Linked DNA regions of Homo sapiens: regions 1, 2 and 4 are each linked to region 3. Evidence: promoter capture Hi-C in 16 types of primary human blood cells and fetal thymus (Javierre and others, 2016). All regions are on one chromosome and are shown on one strand. Each heading gives the region's core, a stretch centred on a gene start or on the middle of the fragment in contact. The rest is flanking DNA. Distances are from core to core; before and after follow the strand shown.

Evidence for each region. The method cuts DNA at HindIII sites, captures the fragments that hold promoters and counts their contacts. A CHiCAGO score of 5 or more calls a contact.
Region 1: the fragment with the promoter of EXOSC4 here is called in contact with the fragment with the promoter of CPSF1 in region 3 in 1 of 17 cell types (neutrophils); the score reaches 7.0 in neutrophils.
Region 2: the fragment with the promoter of PLEC here is called in contact with the fragment with the promoter of CPSF1 in region 3 in 1 of 17 cell types (neutrophils); the score reaches 6.3 in neutrophils.
Region 4: a contact is called between the fragment with the promoter of ZNF7 here and the fragment with the promoter of CPSF1 in region 3, in 2 of 17 cell types (neutrophils and total B cells). The highest score is 7.5, in neutrophils.

Annotation. Positions count from the first base shown.
Region 1 is chr8:144,076,946-144,079,980 of GRCh38, forward strand. EXOSC4 (exosome component 4) reads left to right here and starts at 1,727. Exons shown (of 3, transcript NM_019037.3): 1 at 1,727-1,954; 2 at 2,998-3,035. The coding sequence starts at 1,784. MIR6847 (microRNA 6847) reads left to right here and starts at 2,929; the gene lies at 2,929-2,997. It overlaps LOC124902038 (a long non-coding RNA gene), which reads right to left. Exons shown (of 2, transcript XR_007061141.1): 2 at 1,054-3,035. RefSeq lists enhancers at 1,439-1,488, 1,499-1,798. The HindIII fragment of the contact is 1,430 bases long and covers 948-2,377 here.
Region 2 is chr8:143,938,157-143,940,860 of GRCh38, forward strand. PLEC (plectin) reads right to left here and starts at 1,441. Exons shown (of 32, transcript NM_201384.3): 1 at 1,194-1,441; 2 at 475-536; 3 at 1-84. The coding sequence starts at 1,305. RefSeq lists silencers at 1,058-1,157, 1,438-1,667 and enhancers at 1,178-1,417, 1,828-1,887, 2,065-2,359. The HindIII fragment of the contact is 38,856 bases long and covers 1-2,704 here.
Region 3 is chr8:144,407,964-144,410,898 of GRCh38, forward strand. It overlaps CPSF1 (cleavage and polyadenylation specific factor 1), which reads right to left and starts at 1,372. Exons shown (of 38, transcript NM_013291.3): 1 at 1,326-1,372; 2 at 1,052-1,209. The coding sequence starts at 1,195. RefSeq lists an enhancer at 859-908 and a silencer at 1,179-1,838. The HindIII fragment of the contact is 8,279 bases long and covers 1-1,759 here.
Region 4 is chr8:144,825,846-144,828,924 of GRCh38, forward strand. ZNF7 (zinc finger protein 7) reads left to right here and starts at 1,715. Exons shown (of 5, transcript NM_003416.4): 1 at 1,715-1,764. It overlaps LOC100130027 (a long non-coding RNA gene), which reads right to left and starts at 1,195. Exons shown (of 5, transcript NR_147501.1): 1 at 1-1,195. RefSeq lists a silencer at 906-2,035 and enhancers at 1,367-1,892, 1,893-2,418, 2,419-2,944. The HindIII fragment of the contact is 9,547 bases long and covers 1-3,079 here.

The DNA of each region.
Region 1 (3,035 bases), core at 477-2,976, 330 kb before region 3:
CTGTAATCCCAGCTACCTGGGAGGCTGAGGTAGGAGAATCGTTTGAACCCAGGAGGTGGAGGTTGCAGTGAGCTGAGATTGTGCCACTGCACTCCAGCCTGGGTGACAGTGAGACTCCATCTCCAAAAAAAAAAAAAAAACCTTAGCCAGGCATAGTGGCAGGTGCCTGTAATCCCACCTTCCCAGCTACTTGGGAGGCTGAGATAGAAGAATCACTTGAACCCTGGAGGTGGAGGGTGCAGTGCGCTGACATTGTGCCACGGCACTCTAGCCTGGGTGCAGAGTAAGACTCCATCTCAAAAAACAAAACAAAACAAAGAAACAAACGAAAAAAACGATGACTCAGTAAGAACAGGGACAGTAAGAGCTCAGACTGAAAGGGGAAAAGGGCTCCACAATAAGCAGAGTGGCTGTAGAGCAGAGGGTGGGGAATCCGGGGTGGCAAGTGGCAGAGGGTGGTGACCCATCATGGCCTCAGACCAGCTGCAGCAGCAGGGTTGTGGCTTGCTCACTCACTCTCATGCCTCAGTCTTTCAGGAGAGCTTAACCACCTTGGAGGGGATGCTGTGACAACTGAACTTGGGCCCCTGCAGCAGACCACATTTCCCTAGCCCGCCTGCTCTTCCTACAGTCTAATATTGACACTCCTCCCACTGAAGGGTGGGGTCCCTGTCCTCATCCCTTAAGCCTGGGCAGATCTGTCTGACTGCCTTGACCCACAGAGTGTGGCAGGAGGGACACTATGTGACTTCTGAGGTTAGGTCCTAAAAATACCATGCACATGTTGTCCACCTTGTTGTCCTGGAAGGCTACCCTTGGAACCCAGTTGCCATACTGCAAGGAAGCCCTGGTTGCATGGAGAAGCCACATGTAGGTGTGCTGCCTGACAGGCACAGATGAGGTCCTGGCCCGCCACCAGCATCAGCCACCAAAGATGTGAGGGAGAAAGCTTTAGGATGGCTGCAGCCCCAGCTACCATCTGGCAGCAACTGTAGGAGAGATCCTAAGTGCAAACTATCTAGCTGAGCCTAGATAACCCCAGATTGCAGCACATAATAATAGAATGATTTTTATTATTTGAAGCCGCTGAGGTTAAGTGGCAAGAGATAAACAGACATACAACCCCTCTCTGGAAAGGATGAGGAAATCTGCATCCTCAAAGGGAAAAGGGAGGCCCACCTGACTGCAGTGTGGAAGCTCGGTGTAAAGGGAGGGCATGAGAGGACTGGAGAGGTGCCAGGTGTGGACCATCCTGGGACACCAGCCTGGTCACTTTCCTAGGACCGCTCAATGCCTTCTCCTGTCAGTGTCGCACCCCACTGGGTTCATCCTTCCACTTTCACACTTGGGGCGCGGGGAAGGGCTGAATGCAGGCACCACTGGTCACGAGGGCGTGACTGGGCAATTCCTCCTTCGGCGGGCGCCCACCTCCTGGCACCCGTGGCACAGCTCCGGGAACGGCTGCGGGCCCAGCCGCTGCTTCCCCGATAGCGCCGCCGCAGTTCCCCGGAGACAGAAGTAGAGCCGGACCGCCGGAAACCGTAGATCCGGGGAGGTCGGGGCCGCGGTGAACTCCAGTTCACCAGGACAGGAAGTGACAGCGGAACGCCGGAAACCGCAGATCCACGGAGGTCAGGGCCGCGGAGAGCTGTAGTTCCCCGGAACCGGAAGTGATGGCGGACCTCCGGAAACCGTAGATTCCGGGCGGTCGGAGCCGCCGGGAGCTGTAGTTCTCCCGCGGCTCAGAGAAGTAGGCAGAGAGCGGACCTGGCGGCCGGGCAGCATGGCGGGGCTGGAGCTCTTGTCGGACCAGGGCTACCGGGTGGACGGGCGGCGCGCCGGGGAGCTGCGCAAGATCCAGGCGCGGATGGGCGTGTTCGCGCAGGCTGACGGCTCGGCCTACATTGAGCAGGGCAACACCAAGGCACTGGCTGTGGTCTACGGCCCGCACGAGGCGAGTGGGCGCGCGGGATGGGGAATCGTGTGGCCGTGGGAGCTGCGGGGCAGCCGGGCTGAGCGCTGGCTCGGGGACTTGAGGGGCAACGGCCGGCGCGCCTCAGTCTACACAGCCGATGCTCAGCACCGCATCTCACTCGGAGTAAACGCAAGTCCTTAGTGTGCTGCGCGGTGGTCCTGCCTTTCTCATCGGCCTCTGTCCCTGCGCCCTCCTTCCTCTTTGCGGCTCTTCAACGTGCTAGGCACTCCCCCACTCGCTCCCTCTCCTTTCAGCTCTACTCCGACGTCACTCCTTCCCAGACGACCTTATTATCCACGCGGTACTTCTCGCCCTACAATAAACCCTTTGTTTTGTGCACCTACAATCTCAAATGCCTATTTTGCTTAAGCATTTTCCCCTTTGTTTCCTCGCTGGAACATAAGCTTCCTAAAGAAAGGAACTTTACATAAAACTATCTGGTTTCATTACTGTGCTTCCAGCGCTGTAACTGCCTGGCCAGCGAAGGTATTGAAAGAGTGTTTGCTTAGCGCATGAGTGTGGGAGCTCTGCTTTCCAGGCGGAGGGAACCAGAAGGGCGAAGACCACGGTGGTGAAAACAAGCAAGGCACTTATGCAGAGCAGAAAGACTGCTGGTGGGGAAAGAGGGGATAACTCCAAATCAGGTTGAGGGTTCCCGGGGAGGTGAGGACTTAGGGTTTTGTAGAGTAGGGAAATGATTTGGGATCTTATTTCATATGTAATGTGAAACCTTTGTAAGGTAGTTAGGATTTGAGTGTGTAGGTGAGACAGAAGCAGCGTTGATGTTTGTAAACTTGGGTTGGCAGGGAATGGGGCAAGGATGGACACAAGGAAGCCAATTAAAAGGTGCCAGAGGGCGACACATGCAAGACAGAGAGCGCAAAACAGGGGGCTTTGTTTTGGAGGTAACGCAGTTGCCCCTTGCTGAGGCATTGAAAGTGGAGGGAGAGGCAGACCCACAGAGGACAGTGGAGTGTGAGCTGGAAGGAGTGGGCCTGGCTCATGTGTCTGTCCTCTTCCAGATCCGGGGCTCCCGGGCTCGAGCCCTGCCGGACAGGGC
Region 2 (2,704 bases), core at 191-2,690, 470 kb before region 3:
GTCCCCCGAGAGGACCTCCAGCAGGGAGATGAGGTTGTGGCCATCGCGGAGGTCTTCATACAGGTCACTGATGTGCCTCTGGGCCTGTGGGGACAGCAGCGGCTGAGGTGGCCAGTCCCCCAGAGCCACCAATAGGCCCTGAGTGGCTGATCTACAGAGTGGGTGCTGGTCCCAGAGGGAAGGAGGCGGGGGCTGAGTCTCCCGGGAGCCCACGGAACACACCCTGCCCCACGGAGGCACCTACCTCTGCCCGCCAGTGCTGCAAGGAGAGACCAGGAAAGACCAGAAGGAAGAGGAGGAAGAGAGAGGCAGGAGCAGGCGTAGGGAAGAAAGAGGACAGAAAATAACAGGTTTCAGAGATGAAAGGTGAGCACACAGGCAGCATGGGGACAGCCTTGGGCGGCAGGGGCCACCCTCCCTCAGCGCCTCCCACAGCCTCAGCCCCTGTGACACGCACCAGCATGCGCCACCAACCTTGATGAGGTGCTTGTTGACCCACTTGGTGAAGGTTTTCTTCTGCACACGATCCCGCTCATCTGGGGGAGACAAGACCAGCTTACCTGGGGCCTGGGAGAAGCCCCGGGGGCCCTCAGGTGACCACCGTGCAGACACAGCAGCCTGGCTGGCCAGGTCCTGCCTGGGGAGCCCCAAAGCCTCCCTCAGATCACACACTGAGACCCAGGCGCCCTCACCCGCAGCCCAGCCACACAGCAGAGACCCAGGTGCCAGGGGCCCAGGCGCCACCAGGTGCAGCCACCCCACCCCGGACTCTTCCCCCGAGGAAATGGGAGGGTCCTGGGCGCACCCTGAGCCCAGGGCACACAAGTCCCGTCCTGCAGTCCCCCCCGGCCTCTACAGACTGAGACCCAAGCAGGGGTGTGGCAGAGCCAGGGCCCGGGCCCGCTGGGGTGTTGGAAGGGAAGCCGCGTGTGCTGCTGACAGGGCAGCGAACCTTCCCCAGAGCGCAGAGTTCCTCGCCCTTCCAGGCCCGACATCTGACGCTCGGAGGCCCCCGTCAGCCTCGCGGGCGCCTGTCGGCCCACTCCGTGTTGGGTGGGGATGGCTGGCCCCCGACCCCCATCTCCAAGACCAGCCCCCCAGCGGTGCCAAGGCTTTCCTGCCACAGGAAGTGGGCCTTCCTCCCGCAGGGGCCCGCCCTGCCTGGCGGGGGTGCCCGAGGGGAGCCCTGCTACCTTTCTTGCCCTCAGAGGCCCTGAGCACAGCCAGGTACAGGTTGTCCTCCGAGCTGGTTCTCTTTCGGCCCAGGCCCTCGGGCTGCGGCACGCGGAGCTGGTGCTGAGACATGCTGCCCCCACACCTTCGTCGCCCGGACCCTCGGCCTCAGGCACGGTGCTCTGGGCAGCCCCGTGTGGCACACAGGCAGCTGAAGGCTGGCGGCCCCACGAGACGCTCACTCGGCACAGGCTCAGCTCAGAGCCCCAGTCGGTGCGGCCACTCCCTGCCTGCTGTACTCCCCGGCGAGGCCGGCCCGCCCCCGAGGCCCCACCCTGCCCAGGCCGCCGCCAGGGAGGGGAGTGTCCCGGCGGGAAGGAGCAAGCAGCCCCCTCCCCCACAGACACGCCCTCGGCCCGCCAGAAACAGGAAACCGGGGTTTCCTCACCCACCCCGACCACTGCAGCCCCCTAGGGGGACCTGGGGACACGGGGAGCTGGCACTTCACTGCACACCAAATGGTGCCAGGACCGCAGAGGAACACAGGCCGTCCCCACAGCCACCCAGAAGGACCCCCCAACAGACTGAAGGGCTCCCCCGACGGGAGGGGCTCTGAGGCCACGCCTCTCTTTGGAGCTCCCTCCAGGCCTGGGCCAGGCCCTGCTTCAGCCTCTGCCCACCCACCCTGCCAGGGCGGACTCAAGAAGCCGCTGATACCTGGCGAGGGGAGGGGACCTGCTGCCTGTCAGCTCTTGCAGCCCCCCAATCACACCTCTTCACAGACCTGCATGAAGCGGGGAGCACACCCTGCCCCATGGTGCCTGCCCTGGCCCTGGGGCCAGTGGGGTCCCACCCCAGGCCTGGCCCCTCCCAAGCTGCCCACCTGGCACATCCTGGAGCAGTGCCCACCTGCGGAGCCCACCCTGCCCCAGGCAGACACCTCACGTCGGAGGCGCGTAGCTGAGGGCTGACTCACGGAGGCCGGGCCTCATGGGGGAATGGAGCATCGGGAAGCCCCAGGAGGGGCCTCGCCAGTGAGTCAGGGATGGGGAGGGGGCCCAAGCCTGTGACTCACAGAGGGGAAGCCACACCTGAGGCAGGACCTGGGCGACCCCAGGGGTGGGGGGTGCTGTTTGCAGCTGGGTGGGGCTCAAGGGAAGCAGTCTCATGCTGTAAAGGGCAAAGGGCAAAGGGCCTGCGCTGGCTGGGGCCTCCGGCTCCCTGGGGTCCGGGGCGGAGCTGCCTCTGGCCAGCTTCTGGGCCTGCCCAGCCCACCCGACCACCATAGGAAAGAATGCGCTGCCCCAACCACAAGAATGTTCCAGCCGCACATCAGGCAGATTCGGTCCAGCTGGGAGCTGCACTCGGCCTCAGTTCTGGGAAGAGCTCACCCCACCTCATTCCTACTGCCCCTGAGGCCGTGAGGGGGCACCAGAACCCTCACAATGGGGGGTGCCCAAACCCCTCAGAGGTGGGGAAGCCCCCACTCCACGCCAAGGGGCACAGCCAGCCCCTAGGGCTCTGCCACATC
Region 3 (2,935 bases), core at 122-2,621:
TCCTGCCAATAGTGTGTTAGGAGCAGAAACTCCAGCCCTCGTCAAGCCTTCAGAGGACAGGAGCCCTGGCCAGCAAATACATATGTATGCCGGGGTAGGTGCCCAGGAGGGTTGGCCTCCTTTGGCCTGAGCTTCTGACCCATCTGCCTGCTGGGTCAGCCCCTATTCACAACCCTCTTGTGGCTCCTCCCTGCTTTGTGGAGAATAGTCCTGACCACGGCCTACCTCCCTCCATCCCCACCACCACATCCAGTCTATACCACGGCCACACTGTGCATGTCTCTCCACCCTCAACTGCTTTGGGCCTGTGCACAGGCTGTTTCTTCTGCCTGGAACACCCTCCTCTCACCATCCCTGGGCCTGGGTAAGAGGTACTCCTCCCTTCAAGAGCAATGGAGAAACTGCCTCTTGCAAGTTGCTTTCCTGGACCAGCTTTCAACCCTCCGGCAACCAAAACACCACTGTATTTCCCAAACCCTTGAGGCGTGTGCCCCACTGTACCAAGACTCCTGTCAACAGTCTGTCCCCATCCTAGACCTGGCCTTGTTCCTTGTGCTACCAATGTCCTTCCCCCGACAAACTCCCGCTCTGCCTCAGACAGGCTCTTCTGATCATGCGACTGGAAATACACAGTCTCCTTCCTTCACTCCTTTATTCCCGCAGCAGCACTTGCTGCAGGGGCAGGTGTGTTTATTTAGATGTTCCCCTTCCCCAAGTGTCTGCAGGTGTGGTTCACATGGTATCTCTGCTACCCAGCGCACAGTGGGCGTTCGCTCCTTCCGAACAACTTGCTGAAAAAACGGAAGAGCAAACAAGACGGCTAGGGCAGCGCGCCCTTCCCGGTGGGGTAGGAAGGGAGGCAGAACAGGGTAGCAGCTGTGAGAAAGGATCTGAGCACAAGAGATTCAGGGTCATGTCCTGGCTCCTCAGGCTGAGGAACGTTAAGCAAATCACTCAACTTGTCTGGGGCTTGGCTCTTCCATCTGCAACCGGGGGCGGTGAGAGCACCCACGTCGCGGACAGCCGGGAGGGCTCCCAGGGCCCGACCTACCTCGGCGTCGCGGTTGAGGCGGTACACGTAGAGCTGCGAGGTCCCGGCCACTACCAGGTTGCGCTCGCTGTTGTTGAAGAAGTTGCAGTACATGGAGAACTCCAGACCGGTGGGCGGATGCGCCTGTTTGTACACGGCGTACATGGCGCCAACCCGGGCTGCGCAAGGCCGGGAGAGGAAGGGTGAGCGGGGTCGCCCACGCAGGAGCCCGGCCCCGCACCGCGCCCCTCCCCGGCCTCGCGCTGCCGCCTCGGCCGCCCGCCCGGCCGCCCACCTGGCAGTTGGAGCCGACTCGAGAGGAACCGGGACAGCAGCGAACTCAGTCCGGCCGGGCCCAGAAGCTGGGCGGGAAGGTTCCGGGCTTCTGCGCCTGCGCAGCGCCGCCGCGTGAGCGTGGCTGCAGGGGCGACAGCGGGCCCTAGTGGCCCGGGATGCGGGCGGCTGGCGGCTCGGCTCCGGGCTGGGCGTCCGGAACCCAAACCCCTAGCGCGCGAAGTGCGGGGCCTCCGCTGCGGGCGGAGCAGCGCGGGTTGGAAGCCGCAGGGGCGCCGGCTGCAGCGGCTCGGGGTCGGCCGGGGGGTGCGTCCGCGCCAGACCCAGGACGGCTGCAGGGAGAAGCGACTCCGCTCGTAGCTCCCGGGTTCAGGGGGCGCGCCGGAATCCAGAAGAGGGGGCGCGGCGCCTCGCCAGTGTCTGGGGCTCCGAGAAAGCTTCCTAGAGAGGCCGCACGCCCCCTCTGCCCAGTGTCCCCGCGCAGAGCGACCCCCGCCGCCAACACTCCCGCGGAGGACGCAGGACCCCGCGAGCCCAGCGCTGTCCGCCCGCCTTGCTCACTGCTGCCTACCCAGGGCGGGCCCAGTGCCAGCTTCCGGGAGCTTGGATCCTGGATCAGGCACGGGCCTAGGACCTAGAAACGGAATCATGAGAAATAAAACAAGAAAGTATCGTTACGCCCAAGAAAATGGCGTGGAAATATGTGTTTTTGTTGCATCCAAATCTACTTGCTCATTGGGCAGTGGGGGAAGGGCCACTTGGATGCTCAGGCGTGTGACCCCTGAGCCACACTCAACCGCCTTTTAAAAGTCAATAGGAGGCGGTGGCTCACGCCTGTAATCCCACTTTGGAAGGCCGAGGTGGGCGGATCACCTGAGGTCAGGAGTTCGAGACCAGCCTGGCCAACATGGTGAAACCCAGTCTCTACTAAAAATACAAAAACTGTGGGGGAAAGAGAGAGAGATCAGATTGTTACTGTGTCTATGTAGAAAAGGAAGACATAAGAAACTCCATTTTGATCTGTACTAAGAAAAATTGTTTTTGCTTTGAGATGCTGTTAACCTGTAACTTTAGCCCCAACCCTGTGCTCACAGAAACATGTGCTGTAATGAATCAAAGTTTAATGGATTTAGGGCTATGCAGGATGTGCCTTGTTAATATGTTTGTAGGCAGTATGCTTGGTAAAAGTTATCGCCATTCTTCATTCTCGATTAACCAGGGACACAATGCACTGCGGGAAGCCGCAGGGACCTCTGCCCAAGAAAGCCTGGGAATTGTCCAAGGTTTCCCCCCACTGAGACAGCCTGAGATATGGCCTCATGGGAAAGGAAAGACCTTACCGTCCCCCAGCCCAACACCTATAAAGGGTCTGTGCTGAGGAGTCGTAAAGAGGGAGGCCTCTTTGCAGTTGAGATAAGAGGAAGCCTTCTGTCTCCTGCTCGTCTTTGGGAATGGAATGTCTCATTGTAAAGCCAACCATTCCCTTTTGTTCTATTCTGAGATAGGAGAAAACTGCCTGGAAGCAAGAATGCTGGCAGCAATACTGCTCTGTTACTCTTTCCTACACTGAGATGTTTGGGTAAAGAGAAACATAAATCTAGCGCTGCTGCT
Region 4 (3,079 bases), core at 465-2,964, 420 kb after region 3:
ATCAGGGAATGTGCCCGGCCCCATTGAACTGGGTTCAAGGCTGCAGGGAACACGCAATGGCCAGGTCCCAGAGCAATCAAAGGACTCTGTGTTTCTCAATCAGTAGAGAAAGAAAAGGGGGAACTGGAAGACCCTGTGAATCCCAATCTCAGCTAGGGATGAGCAATCCAGGCTGGCCCAGAGCATAAGCACCGTGACCATGTGAGGGCCTGAGTGTGCCTGGCTTTGGAGGGTCTGCTTGCTCAGTGGCCTCTAGACTCAGCCGGGCAGTGGATGCAGTGGATGGAGGAAGCCCCCTCGCCCCAGACAGGACCTCAGGGCCTCAGAGCCCTGGCATCTGCACCCTGGACACAAGGAAGGTGCCTATGAGGTGGATGCTCTAGCCAGGCTTTCTCCCCCTCCTGCTCCTGTGTTACCCTGGTGTGCCCCCCTCACCTGCAGCAGGCCAGGTTGGGGCATAGGGTTGCCGGCCCCTACCAGCCCTGGGGGTCTGGAGGGCGGCTGGGGAAGCAGACCCCCTGTCCTTCCCTATCCTTCGCGACATGCTCCCTGAGCAGCTGCAGTCCACTTAGATGACCAGAGAGGATGTGGGGCTGAGGGAGCCGAACTCGGGGCAGCAGGGGCGGGGGTGGGAGTGCCGGGATCATCCGCACCGGGAGAGGCGAGGCCGGCGTCTGTTTTTCACCTGGGCCTCCCTGGGGGGCTGGGGGCTGCCTGACTCTTCCCTCCTTTGGTTTGCGCAAGTTTTCCCGCGCGGGTTCGGATCAACACGCCGGGGGAGCCCGGCTTACGTCCCTCCTGGACCCCCGCCCCGTTCTTCCCGTGGGGAGGGGCGCGTCAGGCGGACCTGGCACCCTCCGGCTGCTGGGCTTCGCCGGGAGCCACGCGGGGAGGTCCAGGCAGTCGGGACGCAGGCAGCGTCCTCGCCGAGGCTGCGAGTCCGTGGCCGTCCGGGGGAGGCGCGCAGGCTCTGCCGGACGCAGAAGGAACCCGAAGGAGGCGGGGTGGAGGGCGGTGCGGGGCCGGGGAGGGGCGAGGCGAGTGGCGAGTGGACGCCGGGCCCGGCCTCGGGCAACTCCGAGGGGCGCCCTTCCTCGGGGTCCCGGAGGCTCTGCGACCCCGCGGCCGCTCCAGCCGCTCACTGGGGACAAGGCCCGAGCCAGGCGTCTCCGCGAGGCGGGGTCCATAGCGCGCCCAGCAGGCGCCTCCTGTCGCAGGGACGCGGGGGAGCGGCGCCTGAACAGCCTCGGTGGGAACCAGCGCCCGAAGCTGGTGATCCGGGGTGCGCAGGGCCCAACCGGGCGATCCCCTGGATCTCCGCCAGCCTCGCCCCGACTCCGCTCCTCCCACCCGCCAGCGAGTCCGCAACTCCCGGCCCCGGCCCGCGTCCCCAGCTCCAGGCCCCGGCCCCGCCCCGCCCCTGCTCAGGCACCGCCCACTCCGGGCTCTGGGCCCTCCTCTCCCTCGCGGCTCCGCCCCCTGCCCGCCTCTGACTGTACCCCGCCCCCAGGCGCCAGCCCCGCCTATCTGGGCTTCTGGTCCCGCCCAGGTTCTTGTCCCTCGGGCCCCAGCCTCGCCCCTCCTCGGCTCTGACTCCACCCCTTCTCCGGAGCCTGGGAGGCGGGGCTGAGAACCACAGAGATGGCCGGGCCTCCGAGCGGCCCAGGGCGGCCGGAAGTTTGCGGGGCGGGGCGGACGCGGGTGGCCAAGGCCCGTTTCCGGCGGCGTCGCGCGTTTGCGAGCCTCGGGTGGTCCTCAGGGAGGGTGAGTCGGCGCGGCGGGCGCGGACTCGGGTTGCCCTCGGTCCGAGTGATCCCTGGTCGCTTCCTTAGCCCTCCCGCCTTCGGCATTGGGGTCCCCGCGTCCCCCGGGCCTCCAGGCGGGAAAGCGCGGGGGCTTTGCGGGGCCTTGAGCGCCTGGTGTGGGAGGTGGTCGAGCCCAGCCACCCTCCCCCGCGGCGGCGCGAGGTGGGCTTCGTTTGGCCGAGTCTCGCAGCTCCCCGCAGACCCCGCTCGTGGCGGCCACGGTGTCCGGGGCCTGAGTAAGGCGAGCTCCAGCTGCGGCCTTTTCTTCAGGCCTGGGTCTACTCCCGGGGCCCTGACTCCTCCTGCGAAATCACCTCCTTCTAGAGCCTTTTCTCTTTCTATTTATTGCCCCGGAAGGCCTAGGATAAGTGACAGTGGAGGAAGGAACGGTGCCTTGGGTGGGGTAGGCTGTTTGTCTTCTCTAAATTCTGGTTGCTATTCCGGGCATTCCTACTGTCAGGAGCCAGGTGGGGGGATCAGCCTACCTGTGCCGGTGACCTGGGGCTTCCACCCACAAACCACTTTCTGGGCCAGAAGCTGCCATACGAAGACTCTTTTTCCCATTCCGACCTCCCGGGGGAATGCCTGGGCAGGTAGAGGGTCTGGGGTCATTGGCTTAATTGAGGTGAACGATTTATATCAGATTACATCCCTGTGCCTGGTTCCATCCTGGCGACAGGTGAGCTGGAGACTGGAATTTATGTACTTGAGGGCAGGGGTTTCCATGTCCACTCTTGTCTTCCCTACAGTTTGTCATTTTTGCTCCTGCCTTCTCCAACCTCCAGTCGCTCACTGCCTTCCCCAACCTCCAGTCGCTCACTGCCTTCCCTTGCTGCCGGGAATTTACCCACACTGGTTCATCCAACCCCATTTCTTCTTGCTTCAGGCCCTTTCACATGCTATTCCTGCTGCCTGGAGTGCTCTCTCCACCTCCATTACCTTGGCCGAGGTCCCTGGGGAAGTGACCCATTACACTGAACGTTCTAGTCTAAGTGGCTTTCATAGTTCCCTGTACTTGAGCGCTGTCGTGGTTGCAGTGTGCTTATTTGTGTGGTTATTTAACTCTTTCCTCCGCCAGACTGCTTCGTGAAGGCAGGGTCCTCGTGTCCACTACTGTATCCCCATTACTCAGTGCCTGGCACGTGGCATCCACTTCTTACGGCTTTGTGGAGTGAGTCACACATGCCACACACACATACACTCTAAAGAGGAACAAGAGTTCAGTGGGCCTCCTTCACTCAAGTGCCATGGCTGCTTCAGCCCAGCCCCATGTC